Linked DNA regions of Homo sapiens: region 1 is linked to region 2. Evidence: promoter capture Hi-C in 16 types of primary human blood cells and fetal thymus (Javierre and others, 2016). All regions are on one chromosome and are shown on one strand. Each heading gives the region's core, a stretch centred on a gene start or on the middle of the fragment in contact. The rest is flanking DNA. Distances are from core to core; before and after follow the strand shown. Region 1 overlaps RNF41 (ring finger protein 41). Region 2 holds the start of GLS2 (glutaminase 2).

Region 1 (6,844 bases), core at 819-3,318, 280 kb before region 2:
TAGGTAACAAAGTAAGGAAGAAAGGGAATTAAGGTGAGAGAAAGGCAAAAGCAGAGGGGAAACCTTCTCAAGAAAGGGAGTAATGCTGAAGAATTTAGAGAGTTGAGTAAAAGGTTTATTATTAGTGCAGTCAACACCATGGAACAGCACATACAACACAACCAGCAACCTGCAGAGACACTAGTGCAAAGGGTAGGGAAGCCTTTCACTGAGCTTCCTGGCTCCATCTGAGGGTAAGGACAGGACAGTATGAGCCTTGGTTAAGGCAGGTAGGGGAAAGGGGAGTGGAAGAAATGTAGTAACCAGAGTAAGTATAGCAGCGTTTTCAAATTCCTGAGCACAATGTCCCAGAGCTGGAACCCTACTCCCCTCAAGCTTTCCACCCCAATCCCAGTGGAGCCATGATCCAACTACCCAGACCTGCAGCAAGCTAGCCTGGAATAAAATTCTGAGAGGAAGCCATTACATGGTGGGGAGGAGCCTTTCTATCTCCAACCACACTCCCACCTCCATATTAAAATAATCACACCTATTATCTCTCCCCTTCTCTTACTCTGCCAGTCACTCTAGGGATCAAGGTATACCCCAGGTAACCTGAAATGGAACTGAAGTCCCCAGGGGGGTGTGGGTGAGACACGGCACAGCCTGTACTTAGAGATAAAATTTCTGATTTGCATGGTGAAGCTTAGAACCCAGCTATACAGCTCCAAGGAAACTTGGGGAAGGGGGAGTTGCCTTCAAAATGAATACTCTAAATCCAGAGTTTTATGATAAGGCCCTGGAAGGGCTAGGAGGAAATTTTTCCAGAGGGCACAGGCATCGATGCTGGACTGTCATATCCTTCACAGGAAGAGAGGAAGCTCCTCATTTCAGTTGGGGTTACAGAGGTTTGGGGCAGATATCGTAAGTTCAGCCGAGGACTCCCTTGGCTCTTCCTATATTAAAGCCAAAGGTTGTGCTGAAAAGGAAAAAATATAAAACACACCCCCATCCCTGTCCCACCCTATCCAGAACCCCCACAATAGGAACATCAAAAGAAAAGTTTCAAGTTTGATTTTTTTTTCTTTTTTCCTTTCTTAAAAAAAAAAAAAGGAAGTAAATAAATTAAATTGCCAACAATGTGGCTGAGATAGCCATGATCAGGCCATTCTTAAAAAAAAGAGGGGGGGGGGCAGTAGGTGGAGTTTGTGAAATATAAACAAACAATGGCCAAAGAAAATTATCAAAGTAACTAACTACAGTCACAGGGCTAGAGAGGGGTCTATGGAACAATTATGGCCTGTGCCACAAGAGGCAGTGCCAACCATATTTTAGCAAAAGCTAGGAGTAGCTTCTTGCTAAACACATCAACCCCCAACAGATTAACCCCTACCCTAAACCCTGGCATTCCCTAATTATGAAAACTTGTAGGAAAGAAGAGCTCATCTGGAAATTTTCAGTATCCCAACCTGCATACTGGTAGACCCAGTGGGTGCCTACACCTTTAAGGTGGGCTGAACAGGGATACTGCTTGGCACAGAGGTCCAGTCTTTCCCTAAGGGCCATCAGTGATGGCCAATTAACGGCCTCACTACTTATTTCTAGAGATTTGGCTCCACCCTTACCATTTCTTCAGGATGTCTGCTGCTTAGAGTCAACAGGCCTGACTGCTCTGATTCCCTGGTTTTGGAGGAGAGGGACGATTAGAGATTCCTTCCTCTGTCCTGATCCTCCAGGGAAATTGAATCTCTTTGTGCTTTCTGAAAATAACTGGAACCAGGGACCCTAAGCAGGAAAATGGATGGAGGTGGGGGCTTTCCCACCCAGACTGATAATTTATAGACATTTTAGGGGAATATGGCAAAGGGAGGAAATCTGGGTTTCCCACCTGAAAGGCTGAGCAAACTACCCCAAGGCCCTTCAGTGCCAGAAGGGCAGGGAGATGTGTGGCTCAGGTATAAGCCACAGTATTAAGAATGGTGGGTAGGACTCAGGTCCCAGCTGCTGGAGTGATGGGATTTTCTGATTTCCATCTCTTCCTGATAGCCAGTCGAGTTCTCTTATATCTCTTCCACGCCATGCGCAAATATCATGACAAGGCCTGGCTCTTGCACCATGTCATCCCCCATGTGCTGGTTCTCACAGGCCATCACGACAACAGCCTGCTTGCCAGGGATGCGCTTGGCCACGTAGTTCTCATAGTAGCGTCGGTTCATCTGTCTAGTCTCTAGTGTGGCCAGACCCTGGGGCCAGCTACGCTCGTGGGCATTTTCAATCAGCTCGTTGACAATAGAAGCAGGACAGCCACTCTCCACCAGGGAGCGCTTGATTACAGCCTGGAGCACAGCATCAGGAGTCGAGATCATCCCTCCCCAGCGGGTCACTCTTGCTGGCTGAAGGGAGTTCACCCACCTGTGTGGAGGTGGTTAAAGATGGTCATTCCAGCTCATCTCCTTTCTCTGTATTGGCTTTTTCTGCTAATAGAAATAACTACCCACTCTGCACTCAGCTTACCTATTCTTCCTTCTTTCCTTCCATCATTGGCTCAGAAACCCCAAATCTTTCCCCACTTGGTCCCAACTGAGTCACCACATGTTACTCACCAGATTAAATTCCACAAGTCTGCACTCTGTCTCTGTTACTTTTCTTTGAAATTCCAATACTTAGCACATATAGCGCCTAACACAGTTAGTGCTCTATGTTTAGTGAATAAAACAATTATTCCTCTATCCTATGTCCCACTCAGCACTATTTGCCCTGTATATATTGATTCACACTTACAGTTTACTCTATGAACTGTATAGGACTCCAGAACTGAAAGAGATCTTAGACTTCACTTGTATACTTCGCTTGTTTTTGCTGCATTTTAGAGATCACTTTCCTGGACTTGCACTCTGCCTCCTCTTCTCTGGGTTGTAAGCTACCTGAAGACAGGACGATATCTTCTATTTCTTTTTGGCCCTCCTAGCACTCCACAGCCTTTAATACAGGGCTTTGTACATGGGTACTCACCTAATTCTGGATAAAGTGCATCCTTGGGCAGGCTTTCCCTCCATCCACCCAAACACATAAGACATCCTGTAGTGGAGCTAAGGGTTATCCTCTTCTCCTCTGCCCCTGTCCTTAATGCCAATATCTGAGAAGCAGTGACCCCCAGCCCAGCTCTCCAATGCCCTCCTTCTGCTACTCTCCTGCTCTTCCTCCTTTCAGGCCTTGTTGTCAGGACATGAAATCACTCCACGTCCTGAGTGACACTCACTCTAGGATCTCGTTGTATTCAATTGTCTCCTCCAGGTTCTGAAGGTTGGGGTTGACACTGCGGATTGCACGCATGTATGCCTTTAGCAGCTGGATGTCTCGCTTCTGTTGTGGGGAAGAAGAACAGGAATAATGGTTAAGGCAGACAGCAGAAAAAAGACAAAAGTTTATCCAAGAATGAGGGCAACTGAGAGATCTGAAGAACAACCAGTTTGTAAGCTTCAGGAAGACAGGGATAAGACTGTCTCACTCACAGCTGTCTCCTTAGTACTTACAAATGTGCCTTCACAGAGGAGGCATGTGATAACTGGTAGGTGAATTAATGCTATGAATGGGATGAAGAAAAGTCAAGGAGAGCTCCAATCTGATTCCCTGCTAAGCCACAGGCAGAATATCCACTCATCTAGGCTCACAAGTGTAAGCACTGGTCTGTGTGTTCACAACTGGTTTTTATTACCCACAGGCAGGCAGTTATCTGCATATGAGGGATATGTTCTCCCCCGTGTCTTGGGGCCTACCTGCTCCGCCAGCTGGTGTTTGTGTTCAGCTGACGTCTTCTCCAGCTCTGCGATGCGTGTCTGCTGCTGCTGTACCACTGAGCGCAGGTGCTTAATGCAGTTATGGTTGGGCAGCTCATCTTTGGGCATCTCCAGGCTGCAGACCAGGGTGGGGAAAGAGCAGAACAGAGGTGATCCCTGGGACATGTATGCAAATGGCCTATTCTGTGGCAGATAACTGCTAAGTAGATTTTGTCCTACCCAAAATTTCTAACATTCATTTCAGGCCTCCCTCTTGTTTATTCCCTTCACTTTCTTCGTCCAAGCTTCCTACTTGCCCCTTTGCTGTCTATTTTCCTTAAATTTCTTTCCCCAATCAAGACACAGTGTTTTATCTATTTTTTAAATTTATTTTATTTTGTATTTTTATTATTTTTTTTGACACGGAGTTTCGCTCTTGTTGCCCAAACTGGAGTGCGATGGCATGATCTCAGCTCAGCGCAACCTCTGCCTCCCAGGTTCAAGCGATTCTCCTGCCTCAGCCTCCCGAGTAGCTGGGATTACAGGTGCGCGCCACCATGGCCGGCTAACTTTTTGTATTTTTAGTAGAAATGGGGTTTCTCCATGTTAGCCAGGCTGGTCTCAAACTCCTGGCCTCACGTGATCTGCCCCCCTCGGCCTTCCAAAGTGTTGGGATTACAGGCGTGAGCCACCGCGCCTGGCCTTTTTTTTTTTTTTTCGAGACCAAGTTTCACTCTTGTCACCCAGGCTGGAGTGCAATGGCACGGTCTCAGCTCACTGCAACCTCCGCCTCATGGGTTCAAGTAATTCTTGTGCCTCAGCCTCCCGAGTAGCTGGGATTACAGGTGCCCACCACCACACCTGGCTAATTTTTATATTTTTAGTAGAGATGGGGTTTCACCATGTTGGCCACGCTGGTCTTGAACTCCTGACCTCAGGTGATCCGCCCGCCTCGTCCTCCCAAAGTGCTGGGATTACAGGCGTGAGCCACCGCACGGGGCCTATTTATTTATTTTGACACACTGTTTTTATCTACTGCACAGCTCTCCTTTTCCTCCTACAGATTCTGCCTGTGCACTTATTCCTTCAGAGAAGCCCTATATTCACAGCCCCAGCTATCAACATTCTTTTTATTTTTTAGTTAGGGGGAACAGAGTCTCATTCTGTCACCCAGGCTGGAGTGCAATGGCGCGATCTCAGCTCACTACAACCTCTACCTCTGGTTTTAAGTGATTCTCATGCCTCAGCCTCCTGAGTAGCTGGGATTACAGGCGAGCACCACCACACTTGGCTAATTTTTTTTTTTTTTTTTTGAGACGGAGTCTCGCTCTGTTGCCCAGGCTGGAGTGCAGTGGCTCAATCTCTGCTCACTGCAAGCTCCCCGTCCCAGGTTCATGCCGTTCTCCTGCCTCAGCCTCCCAAGTAGCTGGGACTACAGGTGCCTGCCACCACGCCTGGCTAGTTTTTTGTATTTTTAGTAGAGACGGGGTTTCAATGTGTTAGCCAGGATGGTCTCAATCTCCTGACCTCGTGATCCACCCGCCTTGGCCTCCCAAAGTGCTGGGATTACAGGCGTGAGCCACCGCGCCCGGCCCCACACCTGGCTAATTTTTGTATTTTTAGTAGAGACAAGGTTTTGCCATGTTGGCCAGGTTGGTCTTGAACTCCTGGCCTGAAGTGACTTGCCCACTTCGGCCTCCCAAAGTGCTAGGATTACAGGTGTGAGCTAACATGCCCTTCAGCTATCAACATTTAGTCGAATATTTCATAACCCACAGAAATAAAAAAATAGGGCAAGAGGAAATATGAGAAGGCTGGCAATTATAGCAGTCAACCTGACAAACGGAAAGTAGTATTGGACTGAAAGGGAAGAATAGAGTCAATCAAGCTTTAATGTTATTACACAAATTTACTAAATTGCTGTGCCCCTTCTTTTGTTAAAGCAAGAGCAAAATGATTATAGTTGGAAAAGCAGCAAGAAAGTAAGATCTTAGAGCAGGAAGCCAAGGAGGCTAAGAATACTCCTTGCCAACATGCCAAAGAGACCTCCTCAGCTAGTGAGGAGGGCAGCCAGAGACAGGGGCATAAATGAGATGGCCCTTATCCATGTGGGGCAGAAGGGAACAAATCTCACCCACAGCCCTGTTCACAGGTCACAGGCCGCTTCGGGTTGTGCTCACAGTCGCTGAGGTGAGACATGAGGTTGTCAAGCCGGACAACGGCACTACAGCCGAACACAGCGTTGTCACAGGCAATCTGCAGCTTTGACAACATGTTCCGCATGATCCGAGGTACTGGGCGCAGATGGGCGACCGTCACAACACTACGGTCCACTGGACATGTCTGTTGCTGAGAGAACCACTGGGTGATGCAGGCGTTGCAGAAAGCATGTTCACAATGAGGTGCCTAGAAGAGAGAACAAGGCAAAAGGGGCGCAAGGGAATTAGCAGGACCTAAGAGCCTGGATATGATATAACTCTACAAAGCCAATCAAGCCTTTGAGCAGCCTCTACGACAAGAGGTCCACTGGGTCACAGCAAAGTATAGATCTACTACGGGCAAGGCATTGTAGGGGACAGGCTTAAGATACGTTTCCTGCTGGGCACGGTGGCTCATGCCTGTAATCCCAGCACTTTGGGAGGCTAAGGCAGGCACACTGCTTGACCTCAGGAGTTTGAGACCATCCCAGACAACATGACAAAACCCCATCTCTACAAAAATTACAAAAATTAGCCGGGCATAGGCCGGGCGCAGTGGCTCACGCCTGTAATCTCAGCACTTTGGGAGGCCGAGGCAGGCGGATCATGAGGTCAGGAGTTCAAGACCAGCCTGACCGACATGGTGAAACCCTGTCTCTACTAAAAATAAAAAAATTAGCCAGGGGTGGTGGCGCATGCCTGTAATCACAGCTACTCAGGAGGCTAAGGCAGGAGAATAGCTTGAACCCAGGAGGTGGAGGTTGCAGTGAGCCAAGATCACACCACTGCACTCTAGCCTGGGCAATACATCTCGAAAAAAAAAAGCTGGGCCTGGTGGCACGTGCCTATAGTCCCAGCTAGCCAGGAGGCTGAGGTGGGAGGATGGAGGAT
Region 2 (6,168 bases), core at 1-2,500:
CCTATTGGTGTCCCTTACGACAGAGACTCGAGTAGTGGTGAGGTAGTGTTGTGTCAGAGACTCGAGTAGTGGTGAGGTAGTGTTGTGTCAGTCTGGCTACTTTACTGATGGTGTCCATGTTTCTGAGTGTCATCAGGGAGATGGCAGCGACGAGGGAGATGGCCCATTTCCTGTTCCTGCTACAGTAGAGCAGGGGCTCTTTGGACAGTGTCTATGCTGGCCCTCTGGGGAGGACAAGATTTCCTGCTCAGCACCGTCTGGGTCTCAGAGAAAAAGGCTCAGCCACCAAGTGTGTCCTAGGCGGTGGGGAAGATAAAGGTTTGGCATCCTGGGTGGAAGAAACACCCAAAGGAAGAGAACGTTTTAGATTCTGGAGCCTGGGCAGCACAAATAAAGGCTCTGACTGGCTCTGGTTTGGGAAATCTGCGTCTTAAAGACCTTTCCTCCATTACAAATATTCTCCCCATTCAACAACCAGTTTGGAAATTCCCCCCCATTCTGCTGTTCAGGGAGCACTGCTACGCACACACCCAACACTTATGGACGTACCTGCGCACCAATAATACACGCGCATCACACATTACCTGCCGAGAACACGCAGAAACACAACACACAGACCCCAGTACACCTGGACCGGAGGCAGGAGGCTGTTCCACATCCACGCATCTCCTAAAATACACACGAGGACTAGGGAAGGTGAGGACTGGCGGCGTGAGCCCGGCCCTGCACTCAGACACGTGAGCCAAGCAACACTCGGCGCGCATCTGTGATCCGGGTTAAGTGCGCACCTTGGACAGGCGCCATCCCCAGGACCCGCTTGCCCGAACGCACTCCTAGGCAGACGGCAGATTACCGCCCGAGCGCGGCGCACCCAAAGCCCCACATCCAAAGGAAAAGGCACCGAGGGCTAGTGAGCGAGGAGAGGGGAGATGAGCGGCGCTGCCTTGGAAGGGCACTCGGGAACTAGCGAGAACCACAGTGGGAGTGGGGGCAAGCCCGTCCCCTGCCCTGTCCCAGGAGCCTTACTGATCCTGGTGCTGCGGCTGGTGGCTGTGTGGCGTCTCTCTGCCCTGCGCCGCGGCCTCACTGAGGTGGTGCCGGACGCCCCCGCCAAGGAGGGGGCTCCGGCTCGGGTGACCCCAGCCTCCTCGCCCGCAGTGACTGCCAGCCCGGCTCAGGGCCTTCTGCAGAGCCTTCATGGAGCGCATGCCCCAGCAAGCCTCCGGCTCTGCAGGTGCGCCCGGGACCTCTAGCTGTGGCTGGGAAGGAGGGGCGGAGCGAGCGAGACAAGGTGCGGGGGAGTTCTGTGAGGGAGCGCTGGACCTGGAAGACGGAGAATGTGGGCCCGGTGGGTGGGGCTGGGGCTGGGGCAGGAGAAGGGGCCTGCCCCTTTAAAGCTGGCTCCAGGGTTAGGGGCACCCTCAGGACAGGGGCTAGGTGAGGAGCGTTGGGGATGAAGGAGAACCCGGGTGGCTTTCTAGTGGGTGGAGAGAGGGCGGTGCCTGGGAGCTGGAATGGACAATGCCCAGGTCCAATCACTGAGGAAGCAAAAACATTGAGGCGGGGAAAGGGTAAGGTTGCCCAATGAGAGCAAGACGGTGGGACCTTGCGACAGTCTGCGGATGCTTCCGCGTGGGCCCGGCGAGCGCGGGTATCCGCGGATGCTGAGGGCGGGAAAGGCGAGGACAAGCTGAGGCGAAGCCGGTGGGGGCGGGAGGCGCTCCCCGGGAACACCGTGGGGCTGCGAATGATGGAGTTGTCGTGTAGAGAGGAGGGTGCTGCCTCGAGAGAGGAGGCTAAGTAAGAGTGAGCCCAGTTCAGGAGGTCACTCAGAGAGCCTCGACCTCCGAAGGCCAAACCAGCGCCCAGTAACCCGGCGGGTAGCGTGGCGCGCGGCCGACGTGCGGTGGTGCTGAGTGGAGAGTAGGATGACTGCTGGGTACCCCGGGCAGAAGCAGCCGACCAGCACCTCAGGGAGGCATTGGGCGGCGGGAAGGTCGCTCTGGCGGTTAGGAAGCCTGGGTTCCAGTTTGTGTCCCTCTACCATTTATTTGGTGTAGGACTTGTTTTCAAATCTGGAAAGTTAAGACATTAAAATAAGTTGGCACGCAGAAAAACGTTTTATAAACCATGAAGTGCTCCCCACATTTTTCCTATTTTAATTGTTTGCCCTTGTCCTCCTCACGGGCAGAAAAGAGGCGATATACAAAAAGCATTTTGAAATCCAAGAACATTCAGGACTTTTGCCATTTGCAGCTAGAACTTTCACCTTGTATCTCGGCAGCGCCTAACCCAGCATCCATATTTAGTAGGGACTCATTATGTAAATGATAGCTATTATTGAGTGCCCATGGTGTTCCAACCGCTTAGTTTCTCTCTCCCTCTTACCAGAGACCTACAAAGTAGTTATTAGTCTCAATTTGAAGGTGAGGAAACTAAGACTAGGAAATTAAGAATTCTCGCATAAGGTAACCCAGCTAGTAAGTACCAGAACCAGAAATTAGACCCGTTTTTTTTTTTTAACTACAAGTCTCTCCTTCATGCAGCCCTTCTCAAAAATTAAGCATTGAATTGAATTATCCCGGGAGAAATGACCCCATCCCTAAAGGAGGTATTTTATGTGGAAGTATTATGATACAGTACTGGGAGTCTTTTCCTTGTGATAGTTCTGGCTGTATCACAAAATACTAGTTTTTGTTTGTTTGTTTTTGAGACGAAGTTTTGCTCTTGTTGCCCTAGCTGGAGTGCAATGGCGCAATCTCGACTCACTGCAACCTCCGCCTCCTGGGTTCATGCGATTCTCCTGCCTCAGCCTCCCTAGTAGCTGGGATTACAGGCGCCTGCTACCTCGCCCAGCTAATTTTTTGTATTTAGTAAAGATGTGGTTTCGCCATATCGGTCAGGCTGGTCTCAAACTCCTGACCTCAGATGATCCGCCCGCCTCAGCCTCCCACAAGTGCTGGGATTACAGGCATGAGCCACCGTGCTTGTCCCATAGTTTTCATTTTTGGATTAAAATGAGTTTCAAGGGTACTCGTGGGAAAACAAGTACTGAAACCAGTCAGGTGTGTTCTGTGGAAAGGCAGTTCTCCTTTGCCTTGGTTAGGGTTGGAGGGCTTATTTGGCTTAAAACCAGATGGAGTGACATTTGTTTTTGCTTGTTTTCGCCTTCTGTAGTCATTCTGTGTCTGCTGTATCTGTTCTCCTGTCCGTGGAAAGCCGTCTAATTCTGGGAGGGCTTGCTGCTTTATGCTTGGCTTTGCCCAAGAGGCAGAGTTCTGGGTCTCAATACTTAACGTAAACTCAATCCTGCATTAGTTTTTTTCATACGTAACAGACGAATCTTATCCTTGTTTCATAGAAATATGATTTATCTGAAACGTTTTGATCTATTCAAGAGAAAAATACCATCTGTTAGGGAATTTCTAAACATTACCCAGAAGTAATTTGCTTCCTTTTTTTCCTATTTCTGCCTCTTTGAATTAGCTTTATACTCTAATGAGTTCCTTACTCTCTTTCTCCCAGCACTCTTCCACTAATAGGAACTGGTTGGGTAGTGAAGAAGATCTATGCATGGAAGCAGAGGTTCTTTGCTTAGAGAACTAGCTCCAGCTGCACTTGGACCTTTGGACTAACTGTCTCCAATACAATATTGCTGTCTTTGCATGAGGATGGAGCATGAACTGGTGACTTGGGAGGCCAATGGTACTGTGTAAAGTATAAGATGCTGGAGAAGAACAAGTTTGTTGTCCCAGGTGGTTAAAGCTTGGCAGGGTCAGGTCCTCTTTTTGTTTCTAATTTGAAAAATACTCATCATCTAGTTTAATTTGTGCAAAACTATTAGCCAACTATGACAAGGGCAGCTAGAAATGAAGATTTTCATAACTGAAAGAAAGTTCTTTGTGTCTCTAACAGTGGGCTTTTAGGTTAGTCCATGGCTGTGCCAGAGTTTTGTGGTATGTGAGAGAGGATTAGACTTAATGATTTTGAATCCTTAATAAAAGCTAAATCCGGGCCGGGCGCGGTGGCTCATGCCTGTAATCCCAGCTGCTCAGGAGGCTGAGGCAGGAGAATTGCTTGAATCTGGGAGGCGGAGGTTGCGGTGAGCTGAGATCACGCCATTGCACTCCAGCCCGGGCAACAAGAGCAAAACTCCGTCTCAAACAAAAAAAAAAAAAGAAAAGAAAGAAAGAAGGAAAAGCTAATCCTCTGTGATAGGAAATTGATGTTTGGAGTTTGTTTATTTCTTATGATTTAGAGACTCATTTGTTCTACTCTATTTTGTGTGTGTGTGTGTGTGTGTGTGTGTGTGTGTGTGTGATGGAGTCTCGCTCTGTCGTCCATGCTGGAGTGCAATGGTGTGATCTTGGCTCACTGCAACATCCGCCTCCCGGGTTCAAGCAATTCTCCTGCCTCAGCCTTCCGAATAGCTGGGATTACAGGCACCCGCCAATATGCTCGGCTAATTTTCGTATTTTTAGTAGTGACGGAGTTTCACTATGTTGGCCAGGCTGGTCTCGAACTCCTGACCCCTTGATTTGCCCGCCTCAGCCTCTCAAAGTGCTAGGATTGCAGGTGTGAGCCACCGCACCTGGCCTGTTCTACTCTTTAGACTGTAGCTAGGATGTTAATTGGTCCAAGTAAAAGATTAGTTCATTTTTTTATTAATCTTTGTTAATGATACTATTGTTACAAACTCCTTTCTGCCTTAGTTTCTCCATTTGTAAAAGATAAACTTGTATTTTACTGGGTAAAATGTAAGTACTTGGGGCTCTGACATAATGAGCTTCCATTCACTCAATTAATATTTATTTGTTGGCATTCAGTGTGCCAGGTCCAGTGCTGGAAAATCCAGAAATTTAAAAATTTAATAAACCAGTTTCTACTGGGAGAAATGAGAAAGCTTATGTTTAAAATTCCTAATGAAAAATGCTGTGATGTAGAGACATGCAGAAGAAAGTATAAAGGGGACATCTAACTAAGCTGGGGGTGAAGGGCCACTGGGATAGAAGAGGAATGGTGACTGACAGGAGCTGGTTTTTAAAGCACGAGAGGTGTTTCAGACAGAGGGCTCTACAAGAATAAACATAGCCTGAGAGGAACATTTGAGGGACTCTACCTCTAGTTTGGTTGGAATGAAACGTGGGTATAAGAATGTGGACCAGCCGGGCGTGGTGGCTTATGCCTGTAATCCCAGCACTTTGGGAGACTGAGGTGGGCAGATCACAAGGTCAGGAGTTCGAGACCAGCCTGACCAACACGGTGAAACCCCATCTCTACTGAAAATACAAAAATTAGCCAGGCGTGGTGGCATGCACCTGTAATCTCAGCTACTCAGGAGGCTGAGGCAGGAGAATCAGTTGAACCTGGGAGGCAGAGGTTGCAGTGAGCCAAGATCGCGCCACTGCACTCCAGCCTGGGTGACAGCGAGACTCCATCTCAAAAAAAAAAAAAAAAAAAAAAAAAAGAATGGGGACCAATGAAACTGAGGATGTAGGTATGGGATGCATGTTTTAACTTGATGCTAGACTTTCATGGAGTAAATGAAATTTAATAAAAGTTTAAGCGTGTCTGTGATCTACTCCAGTGTGCTTTCCTAATTCTTCTTTGGTTTAGCAATAACAAAATGAACATTTATAGGACTGAAAAAATATAAATATAAGCCTATTAAAAAACATATCATCACACTGGTCCATTTACGATGCCTAACATGCATTTTCTCTATTTTTCCAAATAATATCTTGTATAATCTGGGTTCTCCAATAGCTATTAAAGTAGATTCTAGCAAGTCTTAATCAACAAAATATACTAAAATAATGTAGATTTTGCTAGAATTCCTAAAAAGGATTTAGAAAAGTCTGTAGGCGAAAGCTAATTTGAAGGAATTTGAAAGCCTTTGCCAACACAGCAAGAAGAAAATACCTTCGGGGTTTGCTTGATAGCATTTTCTTTTTTCTTTTTTCCCTTCTCCAAGTTATTGCTAGAGAAATAGTATTTTAATACTTGTTTTTCTTTGACTTAAAGACTATGAAAGATGTCAGAATCTTGTATTACTCTGTAGTGAACAAATGAGACCCTTCTCTAAAAGACTAGGTTAAATTAACTTTTAACCACATTTACCTAAGTGAAATGCTCCATAAGCCATATTTTATTAAGATTGTATATAAT

Evidence for each region. The method cuts DNA at HindIII sites, captures the fragments that hold promoters and counts their contacts. A CHiCAGO score of 5 or more calls a contact.
Region 1: a fragment that was not itself captured here is called in contact with the fragment with the promoter of GLS2 in region 2 in 5 of 17 cell types (naive CD4 T cells, total B cells, activated CD4 T cells and 2 more); the score reaches 6.0 in naive CD4 T cells.

Annotation. Positions count from the first base shown.
Region 1 is chr12:56,204,408-56,211,251 of GRCh38, forward strand. It overlaps RNF41 (ring finger protein 41), which reads right to left. Exons shown (of 7, transcript NM_005785.4): 4 at 5,890-6,161; 5 at 3,756-3,891; 6 at 3,239-3,342; 7 at 1-2,391. The coding sequence ends at 2,040. Among named protein-coding and RNA genes, the nearest start is that of RNF41, 14 kb to the right of the region's middle. RefSeq lists a silencer at 3,723-3,772. The HindIII fragment of the contact is 2,772 bases long and covers 683-3,454 here.
Region 2 is chr12:56,486,911-56,493,078 of GRCh38, forward strand. GLS2 (glutaminase 2) reads right to left here and starts at 1,251. Exons shown (of 18, transcript NM_013267.4): 1 at 1,027-1,251. The coding sequence starts at 1,208. It overlaps LOC124902944 (a long non-coding RNA gene), which reads left to right. Exons shown (of 2, transcript XR_007063331.1): 1 at 1-42; 2 at 77-422. RefSeq lists an enhancer at 788-1,007 and a silencer at 1,168-1,597. The HindIII fragment of the contact is 16,217 bases long and covers 1-3,763 here.